5 separate regions of the Homo sapiens genome follow, and regions 2, 3, 4 and 5 are each linked to region 1. Evidence: promoter capture Hi-C in 16 types of primary human blood cells and fetal thymus (Javierre and others, 2016). All regions are on one chromosome and are shown on one strand. The core of a region is centred on a gene start or on the middle of the fragment in contact, and the rest is flanking DNA. Distances in the headings are between cores, read along the strand shown. Region 1 holds the start of PRKDC (protein kinase, DNA-activated, catalytic subunit). Region 2 overlaps FNTA (farnesyltransferase, CAAX box, subunit alpha). Region 3 overlaps PCMTD1-DT (PCMTD1 divergent transcript). Region 4 has its middle 3.0 kb from the start of RB1CC1. Region 5 overlaps PCMTD1 (protein-L-isoaspartate (D-aspartate) O-methyltransferase domain containing 1).

Evidence for each region. The method cuts DNA at HindIII sites, captures the fragments that hold promoters and counts their contacts. A CHiCAGO score of 5 or more calls a contact.
Region 2: a fragment that was not itself captured here is called in contact with the fragment with the promoter of PRKDC in region 1 in 1 of 17 cell types (non-activated CD4 T cells); the score reaches 5.3 in non-activated CD4 T cells.
Region 3: a contact is called between a fragment that was not itself captured here and the fragment with the promoter of PRKDC in region 1, in 1 of 17 cell types (naive CD8 T cells). The highest score is 8.8, in naive CD8 T cells.
Region 4: a fragment that was not itself captured here is called in contact with the fragment with the promoter of PRKDC in region 1 in 1 of 17 cell types (non-activated CD4 T cells); the score reaches 5.3 in non-activated CD4 T cells.
Region 5: a fragment that was not itself captured here is called in contact with the fragment with the promoter of PRKDC in region 1 in 1 of 17 cell types (naive CD4 T cells); the score reaches 5.2 in naive CD4 T cells.

Annotation. Positions count from the first base shown.
Region 1 is chr8:47,957,260-47,961,777 of GRCh38, forward strand. It overlaps PRKDC (protein kinase, DNA-activated, catalytic subunit), which reads right to left and starts at 2,877. Exons shown (of 86, transcript NM_006904.7): 1 at 2,714-2,877; 2 at 96-172; 3 at 1-4. The coding sequence starts at 2,867. It overlaps MCM4 (minichromosome maintenance complex component 4), which reads left to right and starts at 3,682. Exons shown (of 17, transcript NM_182746.3): 1 at 3,682-3,755; 2 at 3,872-3,955; 3 at 4,257-4,421. The coding sequence starts at 3,886. RefSeq lists an enhancer at 2,346-2,505 and silencers at 2,686-2,735, 2,746-3,045, 3,716-4,115. The HindIII fragment of the contact is 8,899 bases long and covers 1,211-4,518 here.
Region 2 is chr8:43,059,744-43,064,753 of GRCh38, forward strand. FNTA (farnesyltransferase, CAAX box, subunit alpha) reads left to right here. Exons shown (of 9, transcript NM_002027.3): 3 at 4,358-4,472. Among named protein-coding and RNA genes, the nearest start is that of FNTA, 5.9 kb to the left of the region's middle. The HindIII fragment of the contact is 2,316 bases long and covers 223-2,538 here.
Region 3 is chr8:51,904,543-51,909,551 of GRCh38, forward strand. All of the region lies in intron 1 of PCMTD1-DT (PCMTD1 divergent transcript), which reads left to right. Among named protein-coding and RNA genes, the nearest start is that of PCMTD1-DT, 7.7 kb to the left of the region's middle. The HindIII fragment of the contact is 5,663 bases long and covers 470-5,009 here.
Region 4 is chr8:52,714,860-52,719,998 of GRCh38, forward strand. No RefSeq gene overlaps it. Among named protein-coding and RNA genes, the nearest start is that of RB1CC1, 3.0 kb to the left of the region's middle. RefSeq lists enhancers at 1-70, 91-140. The HindIII fragment of the contact is 1,681 bases long and covers 1,806-3,486 here.
Region 5 is chr8:51,888,306-51,893,193 of GRCh38, forward strand. The region is part of intron 1 of PCMTD1 (protein-L-isoaspartate (D-aspartate) O-methyltransferase domain containing 1); the gene reads right to left. Among named protein-coding and RNA genes, the nearest start is that of PCMTD1, 8.3 kb to the right of the region's middle. The HindIII fragment of the contact is 3,507 bases long and covers 1,710-4,888 here.

The DNA.
Region 1 (4,518 bases), core at 1,627-4,126:
GAAACTGTAATGAAAGAGATACATATTGTAAATATGGGTAAGAGGAGTCACTCCAGGAATATACAAGAAAAGCAAAACCAAAATTGTCAACTTACTTCAATACTGTTGAGTGACTTCCGGACAAATACAAGCAAACCGAAATCTCTGGAAAAAACTAAAGATGTCTGTAATGCTGTTCAAAAAAATAAGTAAACAAGTTAAGAGAGTGCCAAGAGCATCATGTAAACCACTCCTAAAGGGGTTGCAATGATTTTCTTATTATTTTTTTTGAGATGGAGTCTCGCTCTGTCGCCCAGGCTGGAGTGCAGCGGCGCGATCTCGGCTCACTGCAACCTCCGCCTCCCGGGTTCACGCCATTCTCCTATCTCAGCCTCCCAAGTAGCTGGGACTAAAGGTGCCCACCACCATGCCCGGCTAATTTTTTTTTTGTATTTTTAGTAGAGACGGGGTTTCACCGTGTTAGCCAGGATGGTCTCGATCTCCTGACCTCACGATCAGCCCGCCTCGGCCTCCCAAAGTGCTGGGATTACAGGCGTGAGCCACCGCGCCTGGCCAAGGTTGCAACGGTTTTCAAGGCAGCCTTATAAATATAAAACACTAACCCAAGGTTGCTGTATTAAAACAAAGCAGAAAATTCTAGACAATGTTCCACAGGGATGCAGTACGCAAAATAATGGCCCCAAAGATGCCTGCATCCCAATCCCTGGGGTCACATCTTGTGAATATGTTAAATGTATATAGCAAAAGGAAATTGAGCTTGCAGATGGAATTAAGGTAGCTAATCAGCTGACCTTAAAATGGGAAGATCATACTGGATTATCCAGAGAGCCCAATGTAATCACACAGGCCCTTAAAGTAAGGAGATGAAGAAGAGTGGGTCAGAGAGACAGGAAGTTGGGAAAGCGGGAGATTCCAAACCTCTAGTTAGGGGGACTTGACATGCTGTTGCTGGCCTTGAAGACCAAGGGAAGGGAGCTGTGATCCAAGGAAAGGGGACAGCTTCAAGAAGTATGGAATGTCAGGGACCTCAATCCTATATAACCTGAATGAATAAGGCAATGGATCCTCCCCAAGAGCCTTCAGAAAGAAAGCAGCCCTGTCTGGTACTTTGGTTCTAGCTTGGTGAGACCTGTGTGGGATTCTGACTCACAGAATCCCCCTTACAGTGGGAACTGTAAGAGTAACAGACCTGTGCTGTTTTAAACCACTAAGCTTGTGGTAATTGTTACAGCAGCAATAAGGAACTAATACACTTCCCCTGGAATCTCTCAAGTGAAAGGAGATATGGCATAAATGGAAGGTAAACTTGGAAGTGCTTTAGAAACAAGTTACTAAACGAACAAAAATGAATTCTAAATTTGAAACCCTGAGAAGAGAAAGTAATCACGCAATGTTAGTTTTTTGTTTGATATTTCCCCATTGTTAATATATTCTTGACAACAGATAGAGTACATATAGGATACATGTATATAGCATCTTTTTTTTTTTTTTTTTGGGACGGAGTCGTGCTCTGTTGCCCAGGCTGGAGTGCAGTGGCACAATCTCGGCTCACTGCAATCTCCTTCTCCTGGGTTCAAGACATTCTCCTGTCTCAGCCTCCCGAATAGCTGGGACTACAGGCGCTCGCCACCATGCCCAGTTAATTTTTGTATTTTTAGTAGAGACAAGGTTTCACCATACTGGTCAGGTTGGTCTCCATCTCCTGACCTCAGGTGATCCAGCTGCCACAGCCTCCCAAAGTGCTGGGATTACAGGCATGAGCCACCGCACCGTGCCACATATAGCATCTAGTTTAAACTGTTTAAGTTATTCCTACACCATATTCACTACTAGACCCTCCGGAAGAAAATCTCACCTTTTAATAGGGCACAACATCAAGGTCTGCATACTCGTGTTTTAAAGAAGGAATACAGGAGATCCACATAATTAAGTATTTGAATATTTAAAATGCTAAAAAGAGGCACTTTTACTACAAAGGGGAAAAAGTTCCCACCCAGGCATTGCTAAAGAGTTAAAAGAACATGACTTCAATTACATTTCTTCAATTTTTCTCAAAGTAGGAACGGCAAATAGAGGGGTTTGGAAAAGGTACTGGTGGGATTAGGCGAGATTCAGGTGAAAGAAAATACTTTCTCTTGGCCGGGCCCGGTGGCTCACGTCTGTAATCCCAGCACTTTGGGAGGCCGAGGCGGGGGGATCACGAGGTCAGGAGTTCGAGACCAGCCTGACCAACATGGTGAAACCCCATCTCTACTAAAAATACAAAAAAATTAGCCGGGCGTGGTGGCGCGCGCCTGTAATCCCAGCTACTCGGGGGGCTGAGGCAGGAGAATAGCTTGAACCCGGGAGGCGGAGGTTGCAGTGAGCCGAGATCGCGCCACTTCACTCCAGCCTGGGCGACAGAGCGAGACTCCGTCTCAAAAAAAAAAAAAATTATTTCTCTTGCCCTGCCCCCCACTCTGCATAGCAATGATTGCCATATTAGGGGTCGTTTTCACCAACTTTGGCTTTAAAATATCTTTCCTCTAATACTAGGGGGTAAAAAGCAGTATGACAAATCCCTTTATACACATACACAGAAATTCCCCCAAGAATCTAATTGCTGTACTTCAAAATACCGTCATCTAAACACAGAGAAGCGCCGGGCTGCCCGGCTCCAGAACGACTCGGGAAGCCAGGACCCACCCGCGGCCCAGCTCGGGCCGGTACCCACCCAGCACCGCGGGGCTGCTGCTCAGGACGCATTCCTGCCCCAGGCCGCGGATCAGTTGATGACCGGCCAGGGCAGCACCGCAGCGGTCCGCAGCGGACAAGGTCTCCTGCAGCCGCAGCAGGGAGCAACGCACACCGGCTCCGGAGCCCGCCATGCCGCCGAGTCCCGCTCCCGCGCGTGCGCCCGCTCGGCCCGGACCCGGAAATGCCCCTACGCGCGGAGGCGGGGCTGCGGGGCGCGGCGGCAGGAACTTTCCCGGGGACCCCTGCGGGAAGGCCTGGCCAGTAAGCGCGCCTCTTTGGCCCGAATCAACATGGAAACCTAAGGAAAAACGTCTGACCTGCGGAGGTAGTTTGGGTGGCTACTTGGTGTTGGACTTGGCTAAATAAATACCAGAGGCAGATAAAACAAGCGAGGGGCCTAGGTCAAGAGTTCCAAGTTTGTTCCTCGATAAAAAACGACAAACGCGGTCGGGGGCGGTGATGCCCGCCTGCAGTCCCAACACTTTAGGAAGCTGAGGCGGGGGGATCGCAGGAGTTCGAGACCAGTCTGGGCAACATAATGAGACCATCCCCACCACCTCCCGTCCTTAATTTTTTTTAATAAAAAAAATCTTTAAGTGAGAAATGCATCTGTAATGTCCTTATTAACCAAAAACGCCTAAGGGATAAAGAAGCACACGCTCCCTAGCCAACGCTAGAGGAACACACCCCGAGAGCTGGTGCTGTAGGACCCAGTTTTCCCGCGAAAACGCTGCCGCGCAGGGGGTCAGACCATCTGGACCAAGGGGGGCCGAGCGAGGCCTACTTCTGGTTTACGCACGGGCGCTGAAAGAAGCGGCACTGTCCCCCCCTGCCGATGCGCAGTGGCGCCTCCCGGAGGCGGAGCCACGTACGAGCGCCGCTGTGATTGGTGAGGCCCCGCCAGGGGCGGAGACGACCTTGCCGCCGGCGGGAACTCTGGGTCTCGCGGTTTGGGAGCGCTACTCGCCAGGTGGACTCGGAGTCCGCGAGCGTCGTCGGCAAGCGGCCGCCTTTCCACGGTAACCGCGCGCCGGCGGGGAGGGCGTGGCGCGGAGCCGACGGGAACGTCCGCGCTGCGGAGCAGGGCAGGGAAGCCGGGAGGCGGGCCCGGCCCGAGCTTGTCCTTGTCGCGCAGGTACTCCGAGCACTATGTCGTCCCCGGCGTCGACCCCGAGCCGCCGCGGCAGCCGGCGTGGAAGGGCCACCCCCGCCCAGACGCGTGAGTCCCCCGAGCCGGGCCCACTACAGCCCCCGGCGCCGCCCCGTCTGCCCTCTCGCCGCAGCTGGCAGCGCTGGGTGGGTGCGCGGGACCCGGGCGCTCAGCCTCGGGCTGGGCGCTGCCGCTTGGTGCGCACAGACACCCACAGCAGGCTGTGGCCTGGGTGCTGCTTAATTCGATTGCCATTTGCCTCTGTTTGGTTTGGTTCAGTGGTGAGTCATAATGCCCCAAGGAAAAGACAAATCCAGGAAGGCCGGCCCTGAAAGTTAATGGCTGTCTTTTCTGTTTTGTGTGACACAAGCTCGGAGTGAGGATGCCAGGTCATCTCCCTCTCAGAGACGTAGAGGCGAGGATTCCACCTCCACGGGGGAGTTGCAGCCGATGCCAACCTCGCCTGGAGTGGACCTGCAGAGCCCTGCTGCGCAGGACGTGCTGTTTTCCAGCCCTCCCCAAATGCATTCTTCAGGTGCGTGTCTGAAGATCTTGGTTTTGCTGTGCTTGATACACAGCTGATGCTTTATCTGCTCAGGTTTACTGGCTTTATAACAGTTGGCATAACGCCT
Region 2 (5,010 bases), core at 131-2,630, 4.9 Mb before region 1:
ATTTTATGTATATATATTTCTTTCAGTTAAGGCTTTTCTAAGATCATTCTTTTACAAAAGCATTTTTTTTCTGCTAATAAAATGACAATAAATGTTTAAAAAAGCATAATGATAGGTTTGCCGTATTAAGTGTGCAGATATATTACTAAACTTAATGATTAAGTGGAAGTAGCACAGAAGTAGATTTGTAAAGACTCGAGAAATAGATCCTCACTCTATGAAAGCTTAATATGTGATAAAAAGGACATTTTATACCTTTATGAAAAGGGTGGATTAATCAAATAATGGTTGGAACAGTTGGCTGTGCACTTAGATAAAAGCAGAGTTGTATCCCTATCATTCTTAGGATGGAGAACGTATTAGGCAAGATGTAAACCTCAGAATCGATTAAGGAGAAGGTCAGAATATATAACTGCACGGAAATGCAAAACTCTCATACTTTGAGAGATAGTATATATGAAGAGACAATTCACAAAATAGAAATATCTATGAAGAGATATTAACCTTACTAGTGATCAGAGAAATATAAACCATAACTTATTCAGATTCATAAGTACTTATAACAGAGATGTTGGGGGAAACTAATATAATCATATGTTTCCATTGAGGATAAATTAACCTTTTTGCAAGGTATAAAATTAACATTTTGGGCCAGGCGCGGTGGCTCACGCCTGTAATCCCAGTACTTTGGGAGGCTGAGGTGGGCAGATCACCTAAGGTTAGGAGTTTGAGACTAGCCTGGCCAACGTGGCGAAACCCTGTCTCTACTAAAAATACAAAAATTAGCTGGGCGTGGTGGCAGGCGCCTGTAATCCCAGCTACTCAGGAGGCTGAGGCAGGAGAATTGCTTGAACCTGAGAGGTGGAGGTTGCAGTGAGCCACGATCACGCCATTGCACTGTAGTCTGGACGACAAGAGCAAAACTCTGTCTCAAAAAAAAAAAAAAAAAATTAACTTTGTGAATTCTTACATACACCATGGTTAGAAACCCTAAAGGAAAAGATAAGTTTGACCTGTCAACCGTTTATAGACAAATATATCAATTTAAAACTTACACAGCAGAAGAAACCATGAGCAAGTTAAAAAGCAAGCAGCAGTGTGGAAGAAGGTATGTCATTTAAACAGGATCCATATTAAAACTGAGACGTTTTTACAACAGGATAAGGAGACAGAGAGTTTAATCAAAAAATGGACAAAGGGTATGAACTGGCAATTCACAGAAAAGAAAATCCCATTGGCCAATAAAATAGGAAGAATCCTTTATCATTAAGAATGACAGGTTAAAATGAGAATTCCATTTTCCACCCATGATTTAAGTGGCAGAAATGAAAACTGTCTTGATATTATATTAGGTATTAAGATATATGAAGAGCTCCATACATTTCATATGGGATTTTTCGAATGTTTAGCCATTTTGGAAAGTAGTTTGGTATATCTGTTAAAACTGGAAAATGCACTTATCTTACAACCTAGCAGTGTGTTGCTTCTAATTTAATATTGGGTTCATTCTGGCACATGGCATGAGAAGATATGCACAGGAGGTTAAAAGCACAGACTTTGGAGCCAGACCATCTGGTTCAAATTCTAACTTCACATTTTACTGACTGTGTAATCTTGGACAAGTTATTTAACTCCTATGTGCCTCTGTTTCCACCTGTGTAAAATGAGGATCTTGGTAGTAACTATAGATGTAGTAAATTATTTACATAAAATAGTAGAATACTGTCTGGCTCATAGTAAGCACTATATATGTTAGCTACTATAATTTGCAGCATTTTTTGAAAAAGCAAGATATTGGAAGCTATATGTCTATCTTTTGGAGAAATGGATAAAATAAAATGTATCATTGTCATACAGTTAATACTATATAACCGTTAAGAGGATTTAGATCTATTATAACATGAACAGATCTCAGAAACAATGTTGAGTTAAAAAAGTCAAAGTTTGAGAATCTTCGAGCATGACAATATGTTGTTTATAATTTTTTTTTTTTGAGATGGAGTTTCGCTCTTGTTGCCCAGGCTGGAGTGCAATGGCATGATCTTGGCTCACCGCGACCTCCGCCTCCCGGGTTCAAGTGATTCTCCTGCCTCAGCCGCCCGAGTAGCTGGGATTACAGGCTTGCGACACCACACCTGGCTAATTTTGCATTTTTAGTAGAGACGGGGTTTCTCCATGTTGGTTAGGCTGGTCTCGAACTCCCGACCTCAGGTGATCCGCCCACCTCGGCCTCCCAGAGTGCTGGGATTACAAGCGTGAGCTACCGCGCCTGGTCTGTTTATAATGTTTGAATTAAAAGAATAATGTTTCATTTTACCTTTTACAGTGAATCGGATTTTGGTTGTTTACATAGGAACCTGAGGCTTTGGAGCTATCCCAGCCTGATAGCCTCCCAGTTTATTTTATCAATGTGCATATGTGTATGTTTTATGTGTGTGTGTGTGTGTGTGTGTGTGTGTAAGATAATGTATTATATATATACATTTGTATACATATTTAATATGTTACCATTTTGTTTTAAATTTGAAATTATTTGGAAGCTTGGTTTTTTTTTTGAGACAGACTTTCGCTCTTGTTGCACAGGCTGGAGTACAATGGCGTGATCTCGGCTCACTGCAACCTCTGTCTCCCAGGTTCAAGCGATTCTCGTGCCTCAGCCTTCTGAGTAGCTGGGATTACAGGCATGTGTCACCATGCCCAGCTAATTTTTGTATTTTTAGTAGAGATGGGGTTTCACCATGTTGGTCAGGCTGGTCTTGAGCTTCTGACCTCAAGTGATCCTCCCACCTCGGCCTCCCAAGGTGCTGAGATTACAGGCCTGAGCCACTGCTCAAATTCAACTTTTTAAAGATAGTGTTTAGAACTAGGTAAACTTTGTATACCTCAGAATTTTGTGAAGAGGAGTAATTGTTCATATTCGTGTCTGATACTTTCAGTGTTACAGGCTAAAAGGAAAAAACTGTTTCTCTATAGTCAAAATACTTCGACACCAAATGTTTGGATTTTTCACACCAAGCAATTTTCTGTAGACACCAACTAGTTGCCCTACAATTTAATTCAGTTCTGACATTACCCAGAGTTAGCACAGATCCCACAGGCCAAGGGATCAGTGCTGCAACATCCATCCCACTTCAGATGCCATTGCAAGTAGTGGGTCACCACATTACCCACATTTAATATTCTACTTGGCTGTAAATGACCCCTTTCTGTTTTTTTCTTTTCAGAGACAGGCTCTCACTATGTTACCCAGCGTGGTCTCAAACTCTTGGGCTCAAGCAGTCCTTCTGCCTCAGCCTCCCGAGTAGCTGGGAGTACAGGTGCAAACCACCATACCTGGCAGTTCCTTTTTTTTTTTTTTTTTTGAGACAGTGTTGTGCTGTCACCCAGGCTCGGTGCTTGCGATCATGGCTCACTGCAGCCTTGACCTCCCAGGCTCAAGCGATCCTCCTACCTCTGCCTCCCGAGTAGCTGTGACTGCAGGCCTGGATCACCACGCCCGATTAATTTCTATATTTTTTGTAGAGGCGGAGTTTCCCTAAGTTGCCCAGGCTAATTTTAAACTGCTGGGTTCAAGTGATCTGCCTGCCTCAGTCTTTTGTTTGTTTTTTTTGTAATCCAATGCTCCCAATAAATATCCTTGAATACTTGCACACATATGGGAGTATATTTGTGAGAGAACTTTCTAGAGCTGGAATTACTGGGTCAAAGAGTATGTAAATTTTAATGATTTGTTGTAGAAGTATTTGTACTAGTTTACACTATCTTTAATAATGTACGAGTGAAAAATGCAAAGCTCAGAGTGTGATGGGATCTCGTTTGCATAAAAATGAAGGATGGAATTAGGCTATATACTTGTAGATGCATAGACTATATTTGGAAGGATACACTAGAATGAGTTAATAATGGTTGCTTCTGGGGAGGAGGCTTGGGAATTTAGTGGAATGGAAATCTAGTGTGAACCTTTTTGTACTGTTTGAGTTTTCTGCCTTTGGGCATATTTTTCAGTTAAAAATCTGATCAAAATGTCAGAAAAACAGCTATATGAATATATTTGAATATATGCAACCCTAATTTTTCTTTTATACATAAGGCCTATGGGAGATATGGAATCTGGCATGAACTCATGCACACACGTAAGCAGTAAGCATACAGTTATACATAAATAGTCCATGCTTTTTGTGGCTGAGGCACTAGGGCATTATTAGGGTGGCGGCCACAGCCATTTGACTTTATTTTGCTTGTTGGTATAAATGATACACAGGCCAATAAAATATCTTTATAGGTATAGTGACATTATACATTATAGTGCTAATTTTAAGTAAGATGGTCCTAATGTAGTTGTGTGCTCTATCTCTAGTTAGAGATGTTTATGATTACTTCCGAGCTGTCCTGCAGCGTGATGAAAGAAGTGAACGAGCTTTTAAGCTAACCCGGGATGCTATTGAGTTAAATGCAGCCAATTATACAGTGTGGTAAGTAATACACATCATCAGTATTCCCTGCTTAAATGTTTTACTTCAAGTGGCTTTTCTTTTTTTAAACTGTACTTTAATTTTTTTAAACTGTACTTTATTTTTTTTGGAGGGGGGTGCAGTTTCACTCTTGTTGCCCAGGCTGGAGTATAACTGGTACAATCTTGGCTCACTGCAACCTCTGCCTCCTGGGTTCAAGTGATTCTCCTGCCTCAGCCTTCTGAGTAGCTGGGATTACGGGCGCCCACCACCACGCCCAGCTAATTTTTTTGTATTTTTAGTAGAGACAGGGTTTCACCATGTTGGCCAAGCTGGTCTTGAAATCCTGACTTAAGGTGATCCACTCCCCGCGGCCTCCTAAAGTGTTTGGATTGCAGGTGTGAGCCACTGTGCCTGGCCTTTAATTTTTATCAAAATAGCAATTCGCTTATGGGTTTAAAAGTCAGAAGCTGCATGAAAAGTAGCAATCTCTAGCCCAATATTCCCTCCCACTGCCAGTCCCACTCCGCAGAGGTGGTAAGTAACTCTTAGTGATTTT
Region 3 (5,009 bases), core at 2,051-4,550, 3.9 Mb after region 1:
AGAACCATGTTAGAAAGACCATGTGATAAAAAAAAAAAAGTTAATGACAAGATACTTAATATATGAAATCAGCTTTATTTCCCTCCAGGAATATTTTTATTTAAACAGTTCTTAAAAACTCAATCTACAATTTTTACAAAGGAATTAAATAATGATGTTCTATTACTTATAAGGAATTTGAGGCCTCAGGAGTAAGCTATAGCTAGATTGTTTTAGGCAGGAGGACTTTCTGTGTTCTTAGCTTCCCTTGGTTTCTAATTAAAAGGTTGGAAAATGAGATACATCTCTGACATATTAGTTTATATAGTTGGCCTTCCATATCCATGGGTTCCACACCATAGAGTCAACCAACCACAGATGGAAAATATTCCCCCCAAAAATGGATGGTTGCATCTGTACTAAATGTGTAGACTTTTGTTTGATCATTATTCCCTAAACAATACATGCTGAATTTCCTACCAGAGACAAAAGCTTCAGTCATATTTTTTATATACTTATATCTTAGGCAAGACTTTAATAAACCAAGAAATGGTTAATTTTCACAAAATATATGTTAATAGACCATTAATGCCAGTGCATGAATTAGCTTATGGTTTTTGTTCCTAGCTACCGTTTTTTGTTGTTGTATTTTTTGGAGACAGAGTCTCACTCTGTTGCCCAGGCTGGAATGCAGTGATGTGATCATAGCTCACTGCAGTCTTGAACTCCTGGGTTTAAGCAATCCTCCTGCCTCTGCCTCCTAAGCAGCTGGAACTACATGCATGTGCCACATCATGGAGCTAATTTTTAAATTCTTAGTAGAGATGGAAGTCTCATAATGTTGCCCAGGCTGGTCTCAAACTCCTGGCCTCAAGTGATCCTCCTGCCTCAGCCTCCCAAAGTGCTAGGATTACTAGTGTCAGCCACCGTGCCTGCCCCTAGCTACTGTTTAAGTTCAGGAATATCAAAGAAAAAAAGCACCAGACGACTGGGCACGGTGGCTCACACCTGTAATCCCAGCACTTTGGTAGGCCGAGGCAGGCGGATCACGAGGTCAGGAGATCGAGACCATCCTGGCTAACACGGTGAAACCCCGTCTCTACTAAAAATACAAAAAATTAGCTGGGCGTGGTGGCGGGCACCTGTAGTCCCAGCTACTCGGGAGACTGAGGCAGGAGAATGGCGTGAACCTGGGAGGCGGAGCTTGCAGTGAGCCAAGATTGCGCCACTGCACTCCAGCCTGGGCGACAGAGTGACACTCCATCCCCCCCCCAAAAAAGAAAAAGAAAACAAAAGCACCAGACAAGGTAAACAGGAAAGGAAGACTTCATATAACATTTACATTATATTAGATATTATTAGTAATCTAGACATTATTTATCATATATGGGAGGATGTGCATAGGTTATATGCAAATACTACCGTATTTTATATCAGGGATTTGAGCATCCAGATGTTGGTATCCAAGGGTGGGAAGTCCTGGAACCAACCCCCTATGGATACCGAGGGGCAACTGTATTTTTATTTTACACCTTTTTCTTTTCCCCTAATGTATTTTAGCAGATAGCCAATTGTGTGATTCCTTGCCTTGGTGATGTAATGAAGTTTTTGGCAGGGCAAAAAGCAGACTTTTCTTGTACAGCAATGACCCTAATTTCCTCCCGACACTATAAATGGAAAAGAGGAATATGGATTCATTGAGCAGTAAAACAAGCCAAAATCTGTTTACCAAACAGCATCATAGCAGGTGGCAAAACCTCAGGGGAAATGGATGCATGCTACACATAGGCAGGAGTTTTCCACTTGGGGTTTCCACCTTTGCCTCATTTCCTCATGCCCCACATGTAGAATCGAATCTGCAGAACTTCCAGAACTGAAGGGTCCATCCCAGCTAGGACAACAAGCCTCTCACAACCAATGGCTTATGACCCACAGAGCCTCCTCAATGATTTGACTATATGTGAGATTCCAGAATATTTTAATCATCCTGTAGATAGGAGACCTGAGAGTATAACTCAAAGAAAAATTTCTCGTTTGTTTCAAAAAATATGAGCTCAAAGTCAAAAATAATTTATTAATTATTTTTAAAAATTTAAATAATTAGAATATACTTGGCTTACCAGATTTTCTAAACTGAGCTATCCTCTTTGACTAGGCTATATTACCTTATGATCTAAAACTTAAACAATCTCTTGTGGTTGTTTAATGACATTCCAACATGTCATGAGAAAATATTCTTGGAAAGCTGTCTGGTGGTCAGGGGTTCTCAACACCTCTACTTTTGCTTGCCACGTACTTCAGACGACCACACAGCCTGGTTTGCTCAAGTCAGTCCCAGTTTATGACTGTTATCCTGATGGAATGACTAATGGTTTTCCATGTCACTCTCAGAAGTGTCCAGGTTTGGATGATAAATTATATATATATATCTCTCTCTGCGTATAATTTATATATAAAAATTATAATGTATATATAATATATATCATACATACAGATATAATTTATATATCTATAATATATTTATATAAATTATGTAGTTATAATTTTTGTCATTAAAAAATTAGTTATATAGCTGTCTATATAATTTATATATTAAAATTATTTATATATATTATATCAGTATATCTTATATAGAGATATTATATATATAATATATATGTATATCTATATAAATTATATGGAGAGATATATATAATTTATCATCCAAACCTGGACACTGCTAATACAGAACTCATTTAACTGTATCAGTCTGGATAGGCTAGATTATCTGCTCTAACAAATGACACAAAATTGCAGTAGCCTATCATGGCAAAAGTTTATATATCAGACAGTATTCCAGGGCAGCTGTCCTCCATGAGTTGGCTCAGTACTCCTAACACCATCATATTGACATGTGCTTTCTATTGTTATGATGGAAAGAGAGTTCTTGCAGTGTCTTATGCTAGCAAATAAGTGATCCTGCCTGAAAATGGCACACATCACTTCTGTCCACGTTCATATGGCTCACACTGCCTGCAGGGGGACAGGTACTTTTCCCATTTTCCAAGAAGAACAGAATATGAGTATGAAAAGTCCCGGTGTTATATATTCAAACAAGAAGCCACATACCAATGAGATTATTTATTTTAATAACGAAAAATGTATTCTTATATGGGCAGATAAGTTCCTTTGCCACTACCTTAGTCACAATCTTGGTAATGATAAGTCTTTGAGGATACTAACTTAAAACAGTTCTTATGGTCAAGATAAGAGTTTTTAAAGTTTTGTCAGTAAGCAAGAGGAGCAGTAGCAAAGAAGAAAACAAAATCCAAAACATGATTCAAGATCCTTTTAGATAACAGGAATAATAAAAAATAAAAGTTGTAAAACAGAAACGCATACTTCACAAATATGTGCATTTTATAGTCCCCTAACTTAAATAATACTCAGGAATAAAAAACTGTAAGGTTTTTTATTTATTTATTTATTTATTTTTGGGACAGAGTCTCAAGCTGGAGTGCAGTGGCGCAATCTTGGCTCACTGCAACCTCTGCCTCCTGGGTTCAAGCAATTCTCCTACCTCAGCCTTCTGAGTAGCTGGAATTTCAGAACCCCACCACCACGCCCAGCTAATTTTTGTATGTTTAGTAGAGACGTGGTTTCGCCATGTTGGCCAGGCTGGTCTCAAACTCCTGACCTCAGGTGATCCACTCGCCTTGGCCTCCCAGAGTGCTGGGATTACAGGTGTGAGCCACTGCCCCCGGCCAAAAACTGTGAGTTAATTCATGTACATGCATTAATAGTCTATTATATATCTTGGGAAAATTAACTGTTTCTGACTGTAGAGACAAGTTCTTTGTTTCAGTAGAAAACTATTAACACCCCCTTGTGGGTTACCAGATTCTAGTCCTGTACATTGACTTTGAGCTATTTTTCACCTCTTTGTAACCCTACATAGTTTTGTTGCCTACTTGTAAATGGTACTGGACTCTGCTCTTTCACACATAGTGTCAGTCTTTATCAAATTTTCAATTCTTCTAGTTTCCTTTAATATCTGGCTACAACTCTCCAAATGTTTCTGATTTACTTCTACCTTCCTGACTTAACTAAAACCTGCCTATCCAGATTCTTATTGGGACTCTAGGTTGTCTTGTAGCCAGCCTTTTCTCCTAGATCTGCAGAAATCCTGCAGGATAAATTTCCAAGTGCTCATCATCACAAAAGATCATGTTAGGGCATCCTTCATGCCCAGAGCTACTGCTGTGGAGGCCACTCAGGAAGTTCACTGGAACTCCTGCCTCTGCCACACTCTGCTGTAGGAAATAACCATGATCGTGACAATCTCACGAAAACCTCCCTGAGGTCTGCGTCATCACCAAAGTGTTCAAACTGCAAACCAGAAACTGGTTTGCAGTGGCAGTTGGATTGCCACTGCCATCCTTATTCCATCTTCTACAGGTGCTTCACACCTGAAGTATAGAATCACCAGCTGGGTTCATAGTCTGCTCCAACAATTAATTTTTGTTTTTCTTTTATTTTCATAGGAATACCCTTCATTAAATGCTCTTGCCATCTAACAAATGTCTTTACTGCAAATCTCAAGAGAATAATTTAGCTTTTCCTTAATTAACAAAAGGAAGCCAACTTAGAAATGGACTTACTATTTAGAGGAAAGAAAAATGTCTGTTCTTTCCTTGAACAAGAGAAAAGACTGACCAAACTTTATTTATGTGTGTGTGTGTGTGTGTGTGTTTTGGGACAAGGTCTCACTTTGCCACCCAGGCTGGAGTGTGGTGGTACAGTCAGCTCACTGCAGCCTCATACTTCTGGATTCAAGAGGTCCTCCCACCTCAGTCTCCTGAGTAGCTATGACTACGGGCATACTCCACTGAACCTGGCTAATTTTTTTTTTTTTTATATACAGATAGGGGGTCTCACTTTGTTGCCCAGGCTGGTCTCAAACTCCTGGCTTTAAGTGATCCTCCTGCCTCAGTCTCCCAAAGAATTGGGTTTATAGGCGTGAGCCACTGCACCCTGCCTGACCAAACTTT
Region 4 (5,139 bases), core at 1,396-3,895, 4.8 Mb after region 1:
CGTACCAGCGCCTGGCCCAGGCGTTCCTGCCGCCACCTCCCCGCATATCCGGACCGCCGGGACTGCACGCAGCTGGCAAGCGTCCCCCTGTTAACTCTGCAAGGGTGGGGCGGCACCATTTCTCAGACCAGGTAAGGCAAGAAAACATGCAAGAGAGAAGAGAGGGAAGCCTAGGCCAATCGGAATGAAAATGTAAACGCCACAACCACGTTTTCAGCTTTACAAATACTGAATCTTGTAGTGGGTCTAGTGGGTTAGGGGTTAGCATGAGCACCCTAATGGTTGGGAGACAGTTTCAGGGGACTCTTGCATTTGTGAAGATGATCAGTCACAGGCAATGACTTGAAGCCACGAGGCTTGAATATTAAAATCTGATGAGCAGATGTTACACGTAGAATAATTACATAATAGTTCTCAAATTCCTGTTATATCCAGGAATATCTGGTATGAGTGAAAACTTGGAGGTGCCTTCTCTAAAGTCATCAGGAATTCTGAGTTGTGTTTGTAAAAATAGGAGGCACAAGAGGGCACCAAACTGAACAAAATGTTAGGTGGAAACTGAAAAACGTTGGTTAGCATGAACAATTTCAGTTTTCAGTCACACTGACCAGTATCTGTAAGTTAGGATTGAGATGGGCTTGTTTTATTTATTTACTTTTAAATTTGTGCTGCTACATATCCCAAACAAATGTGGTCTTTATCATCACTGGCAAGCCATTTTACTTATTGGTTAAGCTGGAATTTTATTACACCACCCCAGCAAGATAGAGGAGAAAAGCGAAAATTAAGTAGTAAATGGTTATTATGCCTTAAGGGAAGGTGTGAACTGGCAAGACAAAAGAGCCAAATTTAGTAGTAAAGCATAGTCATCAGCACACAGAAAATAAGTGGTGAGGAGGAGTTTGGCCAGAAAATTGGCTAAGAAAAATGGCAGTATGACCAAGAATGAAAAGAAAAAGAAAGAAAAGAAAAACTGCAGTATGAGGCCTGTAAAGAACGTATTGGTACTTGCACTTCCTCTTATTAGTGACATTCATTATTACAAATATAACCCAATTTAGAATGTAAAAATCTTGCTGGAGCTCGGTGCAGTGGCTCACACCTGGAATCCCAGCACTTATGGGAGGCCGAGGCAGGAGGATTGCTTGAGCCCAGGAGTTGGAGACCAGCCTGGGCAACGTAGTGAAACCCCTTCTCTACAAAAAATACAAAAATTAGCTGGGCGTGGTGATGCACACCTGTGGTCCCAGTTACTCAGAAGGCTGAGGTGGGAGAATCAGTTGAGCCCAGGAGGTCGAGGCTGCAGTGAACCATCATGGCACCACTGCACTCCTAGCCTGGACAACAGATTGTTGCCCTGTCTGAAAAATAAAAAAAAATTTCTGAACTATGCCAGTGATAATCTGGTAAATTATAAATGTTGTCTGACTTTTTTCTTTGGAAAATGAATTAATTCAGTCCTAACCTTCTCTCTTAATCACAGGTTGCAATAAATTACCAGAAACGACTGGTTCATACCTTATACACCTCCAGTGTAAATGTTAAGAGTTTGTATATTCTTAACAGACTCTTAACAAACATCAGTAATTCTTTCCTAGGGATAAGTGAAAATGTACTAACATTAATTCTATTATATATATGCAAATATCTAGAGGAAATACTGTTTATAAGTTACTAATACATGTATCCATGGTAGTAGGTCTTGAAAAGTTACTTTTGTTGCCTATTGGACACCCTCTATTCTCCCTTCCTTAATAAAACAAAAAAAAGAACAAACAAAATTCTGTAGCATCACTTCTCAACCAAGCTTTCTGATAGGAAGTCCTCAGTCCAATCTCATTTTTGGCCTACTGTGCATTTCTTACTTAACTTGCAAACAGATCATTAACAAGGACCTCCAAATTACAGTAAATTACAGTACTAAGATTTTACTTGAACTTTCTAAAGCATTCGCCATTTTAAATTATTTAACTTTTATACTCCTCCTTCCCTTTTGTGCTGTTTCCTTCCTGGCGCTCCTAAATATCTGTCCATTCTTTGGACCTCTTCCAAATTTTCAGATAATTATAATAGTGTGCGAATGATGCAAAGGTAATGTGCCGTGGGAGAGAACAGAAGAGAGAAACCTAATTCTGGCCTCATCACATTATTGTTTTTTTAAATTTAATAACTATTTTAGATGCTTCAGTAGATTTACAGTGAGGGCAAAAGAAAACAGTTTTCTTTAGGAGTATGGAGGGATTATATAGGATGTACAATAAATACCCTAAGTACTTCAAATCAGTTCAGATCTTTAAAATCCTATTTTTCCTTCAGTTCTCAACTTCAATATCACCTACTCTGGGAGTCATTCCCTACCATGCTTGTTTGTTTGTTTGTTTGTTTGTTTGTTTGTTTTGAGACAGAGTCTCACTCTGTTGCCCAAGCTGGAGTGCAGTGACACCATCTCTGCTCACCGCAGCCTCTACCTCCCAGGTTCAAACGATTCTCTTGTCTCAGCCTCCCTAGTAACTGGGATTACAGGCACTTGCCACCACTCCCGGCTACTTTTCATACTTTTATTAGATGGGGTTTCACCGTGTTGGCCAGGCTGGTCTCGAACTCCTGATCTCAAGTGATCCACCCGCTTCAGCCTCCCCCACAGTGCTGGGATTACAGGAGTGAGCCACAGCACCTGGCCACATGCTTGTAATTTCTTTAGATTCTCACATTGTATCTTTCAGTGTCATCTAACATGCTGACTATAAGCTCCTTTTTAAAAGATGTACTGTACCTGGTATATAATGGTATGCACTCAACAAACATTTGACAGTACCCCACAACTTGTTCAGGCCCTCAATTTATACCTGAATTGACCTCCTATCCATCTCCATTATTTACTCCATCCAAGACCAGTCTAATCAAATCTCTTCCCTGCCTAACAACTTTCATTGGTTTTGTTTTGTATACTAGATACAATTTAAACTTTTTTTTTTTTGAGATGGAGTCTCTCTCTGTCACCCAGGCTGGAGTTCAGTGGCGCGATCTTGGCTCACTGCAAGCTCCACCGCCTGGGTTCACACCATTCACCTGCCTCAGCCTCCCAAGTAGCTGGGACTACAGGCGCCTACCACCACGCCCGGCTAATTTTTTGTATTTTTTGTAGAGACGGGGTTTCACCATGTTAGGCAGGATGGTCTCGATCTCCTGACCTCGTGATCCGCCCGTCTTGGCCTCCCAAAGTGCTGGGATTACAGGCATGAGCCACTGTGCCCGGCCCTGGGCATGGGTAAACTTCTTAACCTAGCATGAAAGTCTCTCCATGATAAGGTATCAACCCATCTCTCCAGTGTATCTCCCAGCACTTTTCTCCCCTTTATATGTGCTCTATATGAGTTTCCTCATCCAGGAATGTTCTTCCCCACTTGTTCACCTTTAAAGTCATCCCTTAAAACACAGCTTGGATGTTAGCAGCTTCTAACTTCTAGAGTTTCCACTCTTCTATTAAGCTTTGCTCTGTATCTCACAACTGTAAATTTTTCTCTCCCCTCTTAGTCTGTGAAACTCTTAAGATTAAGAACTATGCATTATTAATTTTTAAATTCCTGGAACTTTATGGAGAGCTTGGCAGTCAGCAATTAATACAAGATTTGCTGTATGTAATACATTCTGCAAATTTTTATATTTATATTGATGGTTGACTAGAAAGTTACTGTGGAAAATTCCTGCCATCAAATATCTCATAGGCTTGTAAAGGGGACCATTCAAAACAATTGCAGTAACAAAGGCAGGGTGCAGTGGCTCACGCCTGTAATACCAGCTGAGGTGGGCAGATTGCTTGAGCTCAGGAATTTGAGACCAGCCTGGACAACATGGTGAAACCCTGTCTCTAGTAAAAATACAAAAATTAGCCAGGCATGGTGGCGCCCAACTGTAGTCCCAGATACTCAGGAGACTAATGTGGGAGAATCAATTGAACCTGGGGACGGAGGTTGCCATGAGCCAAGATCATGCCACTGCACTCCAGCCTGGGAGACAGAATGAGACTCCATCTCAAAAAAGAAGAATAATAATAATTGCAGGCTGGGTGCAGTGGCTCACGCCTCATGCCTGTAATCCCAACACTTTGGGAGGCTGAGGCGGGTGGATCACCTGAGGTCAGGAGTTCGAGACCAGCCTGACCAACATGGAGAAACCCCGTCTCTACTAAAAATACAACATTAGCCAGTGGCGCATGCCTGTAATCCCAGATACTCAGTAGGCTGAGACAGGAGAATCACTTGAACCCAGGAGGCGGAGGTCGCAGTGAGCCGAGATCGCACCATTGCATTCCAGCCTGGGCAACAAGAGCGAAACTCCGTCTCAAAAAAAGAAAAAAAAAATAAATATAATTGCAGTAACAAATTTATATGATATTAATTCTTTACCAAAGTACATTCAGTTTATTGGGAAGATCATGGTAAACATCTTAATTTTGTCAACTCTGCCTGAGGCATTCAGCACATGTATTAAATATTTCTCAAACAACTTAGTGTCATTACCCTAATTTTCTTTTAGGCAATGTTCAAACAACCAGCAACCACAATTCACATAATTTGGCTTTATTCAAAGTATGAGGCACAATTATTGTTCATTTTTAAAAGGGTTAAAAAGATGTACGTTTTGGACTTTGTTTTTAAAACCATAACTAATTTGGTGTATATGATTATGTACTATTTAGAGGCTGCTGGCACTATGATGATTAAGTTAATGTTTTCAGTACTGCTTATAGACCTGAAAGCTGCCCTTCTCAGCTGGTTTGTGGGTACTCAAACATACTAATAATGATGATGGCTAACTTAGGAATGACCATCTTCAAAGCTAGTGATGACTTGATGAGCTCATAAGCAACACTGTTTCCAATGCTGCAGCAACATAGTCAAGAAAACACTTCTAGAATGCTTAATTTCCTGAAAGATTTAAACCAATAGATTAAGACAAAACATTTGTAGTCATTTTTCAGATTGAAAGAGATATCTTTTTGCATCATGTTTTATTAGGTTCTTGTCTTTCATTATTTTGAAGAGCTGCCTAGCAAAGTGTCCAAAAATAGAGCTGGCACTGTTTATAAAATGCCTTAAGGCAGAAGTTAATCAGTCATGTAGACACAGATACAGAACT
Region 5 (4,888 bases), core at 2,213-4,712, 3.9 Mb after region 1:
CAGGAGGATTCCAGGTTGGCCTCAAGAGGGAGCATCCTTTTAAAAATAGATTCCCCTTCAGGTAAATGACTTTTGTGTATCACAAAAAAATGAATGGGAAGATACACTAGATAACAAAATATTAAGACATTTAGGAGCAGGACCTGATTTTCGTAATGCTCCCACAGTAGAAGGCACTAAAGGGTATGAAAACAAACAAGCAGGCCCTGACCTTTATAAATAAGCTTTGGGTTAACAATGAGAAAGAGACCCAGAATCAAATATATGCATGAAAGTCTGAACTCATAGCCTTTATTTTACCATTGGCCATTAACCTTTCTATGACCTACTTAGTTTTAAGAATCAAATGAAATAATGTGCACATTCAAATTTAGTCATTTTTATCTAGCACCGAGTAAAACAAATTAATGTTACTGGTAACTGAAAAATACTCCTTTAAGTTGCAAAGATTAAAAACAAAGTAATGAAAGTCTTTATATAGTGTATTAGTTCTACAGTCTTAGCAAATTATCCCGCATAACTCAACCATTTCTTAGTGGCTGAGGGTCATTATGAGGAACAGTATGATAATGGTATGTCACGAGCACCTCAGAGACCAACACACACAGTAAAAGCATTCCACCATCTGGAACTGCTTTGCTCTCTCACTGCAGTAACTTCTCGTTTCTTTTTTGTGTGACTAGATGATTCAAATCTGCTTTATTTTACACACAACTATGGTGGGTCTAGTGTGACTCCAAAGTCTGTCCCTGACTATATAGGACACATTCTCCTTGCTTTTCCTAGGCCTTTTGTTGTTATTGTTAACTCCTCACTCACTGCCTACAATATTGGTAAGAGAGCATGAGGTTATCAGTCCAAGTTTGGCCTCTACTTAAAACGGATATTGCTTCTAGGTTAGGTCCGTCACTTTCTATCAAGTGTTAACTGACCTCATAATCTCTGAAAAGTAGTATACGACTCACAAAATAATATATAACCTTTATTACTGATTATTAATGCAACTATCATTAATTGAGCACTTACAGCATAAAGCTTTGAGGTGTTTTAAGTATATTAACTCATTTAAGTCTTCATAAAATTTCATGTAACAGCATTATTTTTAGGGATGGGAAACGAAGGAAAGGGATTAAATAACTTCCTTAAGCTTTTACAGCTAGTAGGAGGCAAAACTGAGGTTGAGTTCTAGATCTATCTGACACCAAACCCTGTGTCCCTCAACACTGTTGATTGCTGAGTCTGGTATCATCATTTTATAGAAAATAAAGCAGACTGAGGAAACTGAAGTCATTCTGAGTCTTAGTTCATGCATCTATAAAATGGGAATAACAATACTTTCCTACCTCTTTGACAAGATGCAAAGTTATACGAAAATGTGAAAATGTGGAAAGTATCAAATTTAACAGGGTCTCATGCTGACTACACAATGCCAGGAAGCACTATTCCCACATAAAGTGTCAGTTTTCCTGAAGCAGTAAAGGGAATGTCATTTATATTAGATTCTATGTTAATAGTGTCTCCTGAGCTGTGCACCACAAATGGCCATATGTAAGGATATACGTGTGTGTGTGTGTGTGTGTGTGTGTGTACACACAAAAATATATATTAGTGTGAAGTGAATTAATTTTATTGTGCTGCCTAGATACAATAAAACCAGTGATAACTAAACAGTGATAACTGAACAAGTCCTTAACAAAAAAAAAAAAAAAAGCTTATATAAAGCCTTTTTGTCATAAATAATGAGGTAATTAAACTACTTTAAGTCCATGGTGATTACCTCCCTTTTCTTTAAAGCCAAATCAACTGCATGAATGGTTATATTCACAGATATTTATATAGATCATTGTAGAAATGCCTACATCTATTTCTAATTTCTCTGGTTCATAAAAGAATAAAGGTTCAAATTACTCTATTTACAGGGAAAAGTCAAGCCTATTAAAAACGGTTTAGATGTATTTAAAATAATTCTTTCACAATGGGATTTACAATGCCTGGTAAATCAGTATATATCACTGCTAGGCTTTTCCTTGAAACTAAAATTAGAGTGACTGCCTTTGCATGTTCCAAAATTTGTTCTTATCCAGTTGAGTATGAAGACTGACCAGAAAATTTAAAATCCGCTCTAGCCGCCAAGACACTACAATGAAAACATGAAAATTTAGAATACCGAGACTTACAGGAGTAACAGGGATAAACCATCCTTCTAAAACAAAGACTGTTTTGCATTTGCTTTTTGAGCTATGACATTTCTAAATAGTTCCTTCTACTCAAGGCCCAGTATTTTAAATATGGACTACAAAGATATAATGATACATAATCAGAACAAAACCTCTGCACTACTTACGCAGTAGCAGTGACAGAGAAGCACCGACTGATCCATCCACCAGCACACCTGTGGCTCCCATAACCAACAGCTAAACACCCATGTGCTTGGCAGTATAAATGTAGAAATCCCCTAATAACATTAAGTCAAGGCCTTAACACAACCTTGGTTACTTAAAACACCACTTCCTAGCACAGATGCATCCAGGTCAGAGAAAATGCAAGCACTCACATTTTCCATACTTCTATCACCAAATACATCTGCCACAGGATTACATGGCAGAAGGACTTACAAAGCTGGACATTTCTAGTGGTGTTTTCATTAACACAGAGGTCCCTCAGAATTAAAAACCATACGAGCCTCAGGTGATAACATCCCCGTTAACCTGTTTCTCCTTTTCTTTATCCATATTTTCTAGTCTTTCCACAATAAATTTCTACTGCTGTTATACAGGGAAAAAAGCAAAATCAAATAAATGAGCTTTTACTTATTATGTTCACAATATCTAGGGAAGTATAATTGACCAAAGAGAATCGCAGGAGCTCAGAAATGGGTCAGTGCAAATGAACCACTGTTAAAAATAAATCTAAACCATATGAACCTAGGCAGCATACACATACCACCCTAAAAATAAATGACATGAGGCCGGGCAAGGTAGCTTTCTCCTCTAATCCACTTTGGGAGGACAAGGCAGGAGGATGGCTTGAGCCCATGACTTTGAGACAAGCCTGGGCAACATACTGAGACACCTATCTCTACAAAAAATGAAAGAAAAAAACAATTAGCCGGGCATCGTGGCACATGCCTGTAATCCCAGCTACTGGTGAGGTTGAGGTTGGATTGCTCGAGGTCAGGAGGTGGAGGATGCAGTGAGCCGAGATCGCACTACTGCACTCCAGGCTGGGTGACACAGCGAGGCCCTGTCTCAAAAAAAAGAAAACAAAAAAACACTCAAATCCCAAATTTAGCATAGAATGCCTGGAAAATAAAGAGAATATATCATTATTCAGTAAATTATATGCCACTAGTTAAAAAAAAAAACAAAAAATATATATATACATATATATGTATATATATATATATAGCTTCAGAAACCTTAAATGATCTGTAGAAATAACCTGATAAACTAGCTACAGAGGCTAAATAGGTAGTACAGTTTACACAATTAACAGTGTGTATTTACAGCCCCCTTGGATCTAAAGGAATCAAAGAACATTCACTATATAATTACCTGGTATCCCACCACCACCTTCTTCTCTTGTTAAAGATTCTGACTTTTACCATTCATTCCATGTACTTGTTATTCAACAGAATTCTGACTGACATTTTTAATATGCACGAATATATTGTTTCTGTTTATACATAAGTCTGAAAGCATTCATACCAAACTGTTAAAAAACCATTACCCCAGCAAACCATGAGGAGCAGACACAGATGATGGGGGCCTGCTTGTTTAACTCCATTTAATTTAGTAATTTAAATCTTATTTCTGAATATACAATAATTTTTCAATAAAAAGATTAATAACCACATACAATATTGTAAGCCACAACATTTCCTTCTAGATGACACAAAGGGATCTAAATTCATCCCCTGCATAGGTTTCCTACGTTAAATATACTAGCATAGGCCATAGATCCAGACACCAAACTCCAGATACCACGTATCATTTCTAAACACTGAACTGCTAACACATGCAGGGCTGACCCTTGCCCAGAGTGGACCATTGGTCATGGCAGCTGCTACCCATCACCACTACCATCCCAACTCTTCCAACTCGATTGTCAACTATGGCTTCTAGCAAATGTCTTCACATAACCCCACAGTTCTCTCCATTCACTTACACACTAATCATCAGGTCAGAAAAGGAACCAAAAAGCCCATTTCAGCTTTCAAACTTTATTTTCCCCTACAAGAAAAGACCACCTACTTTTTACTTTTCTTCCTTCAAAGTGTTGTCACAACGGTTGTAATAGTTAGAAACTAAATGCTCATTAGTAGGGAATATAGTTAAATCAATTATAATTGAAATACAATCTATAGCTGTAGCTATCTATAATATACTCTGAGGCTGAAATTGTTTTTTTAAGAATGAAGTGGTTCTTTATCTCCTCATAGAGATATATGGTTATGTGAAAATCCAAGTGAAAAAAACAGCAGTGTACCTCATCTTTATGTAAGTGGAAAGAAAATTTATTTATATTTCATTGTACATACAAATAAAAAAATAGTTTCCATTATATCATTCCAGAGGTAAGTGACTACTTCCCATCCCAGGGGGGAAAATGGGAGGCTGAGGAAGATACATTTTCAGTTTATATATTTTTTGTATCACTTAAAATTTGCAACATGTGATATATTAACTATTTTTAAAGTCAGTGAATTATTTTAAGCTCACTTACAATTTGTATCTTCAAAGAAGTATTTATGATTACTTTAATATTTTATAAAGCTAAGGGCAGGTAGACTACAAATGGATTAGTTTGAGAATCAGTCTCATTCCTTTATAAGCATGCATTTTAACATTCCAAAAAGAAAACGTCTCTTCCCATCACCAAGATATCC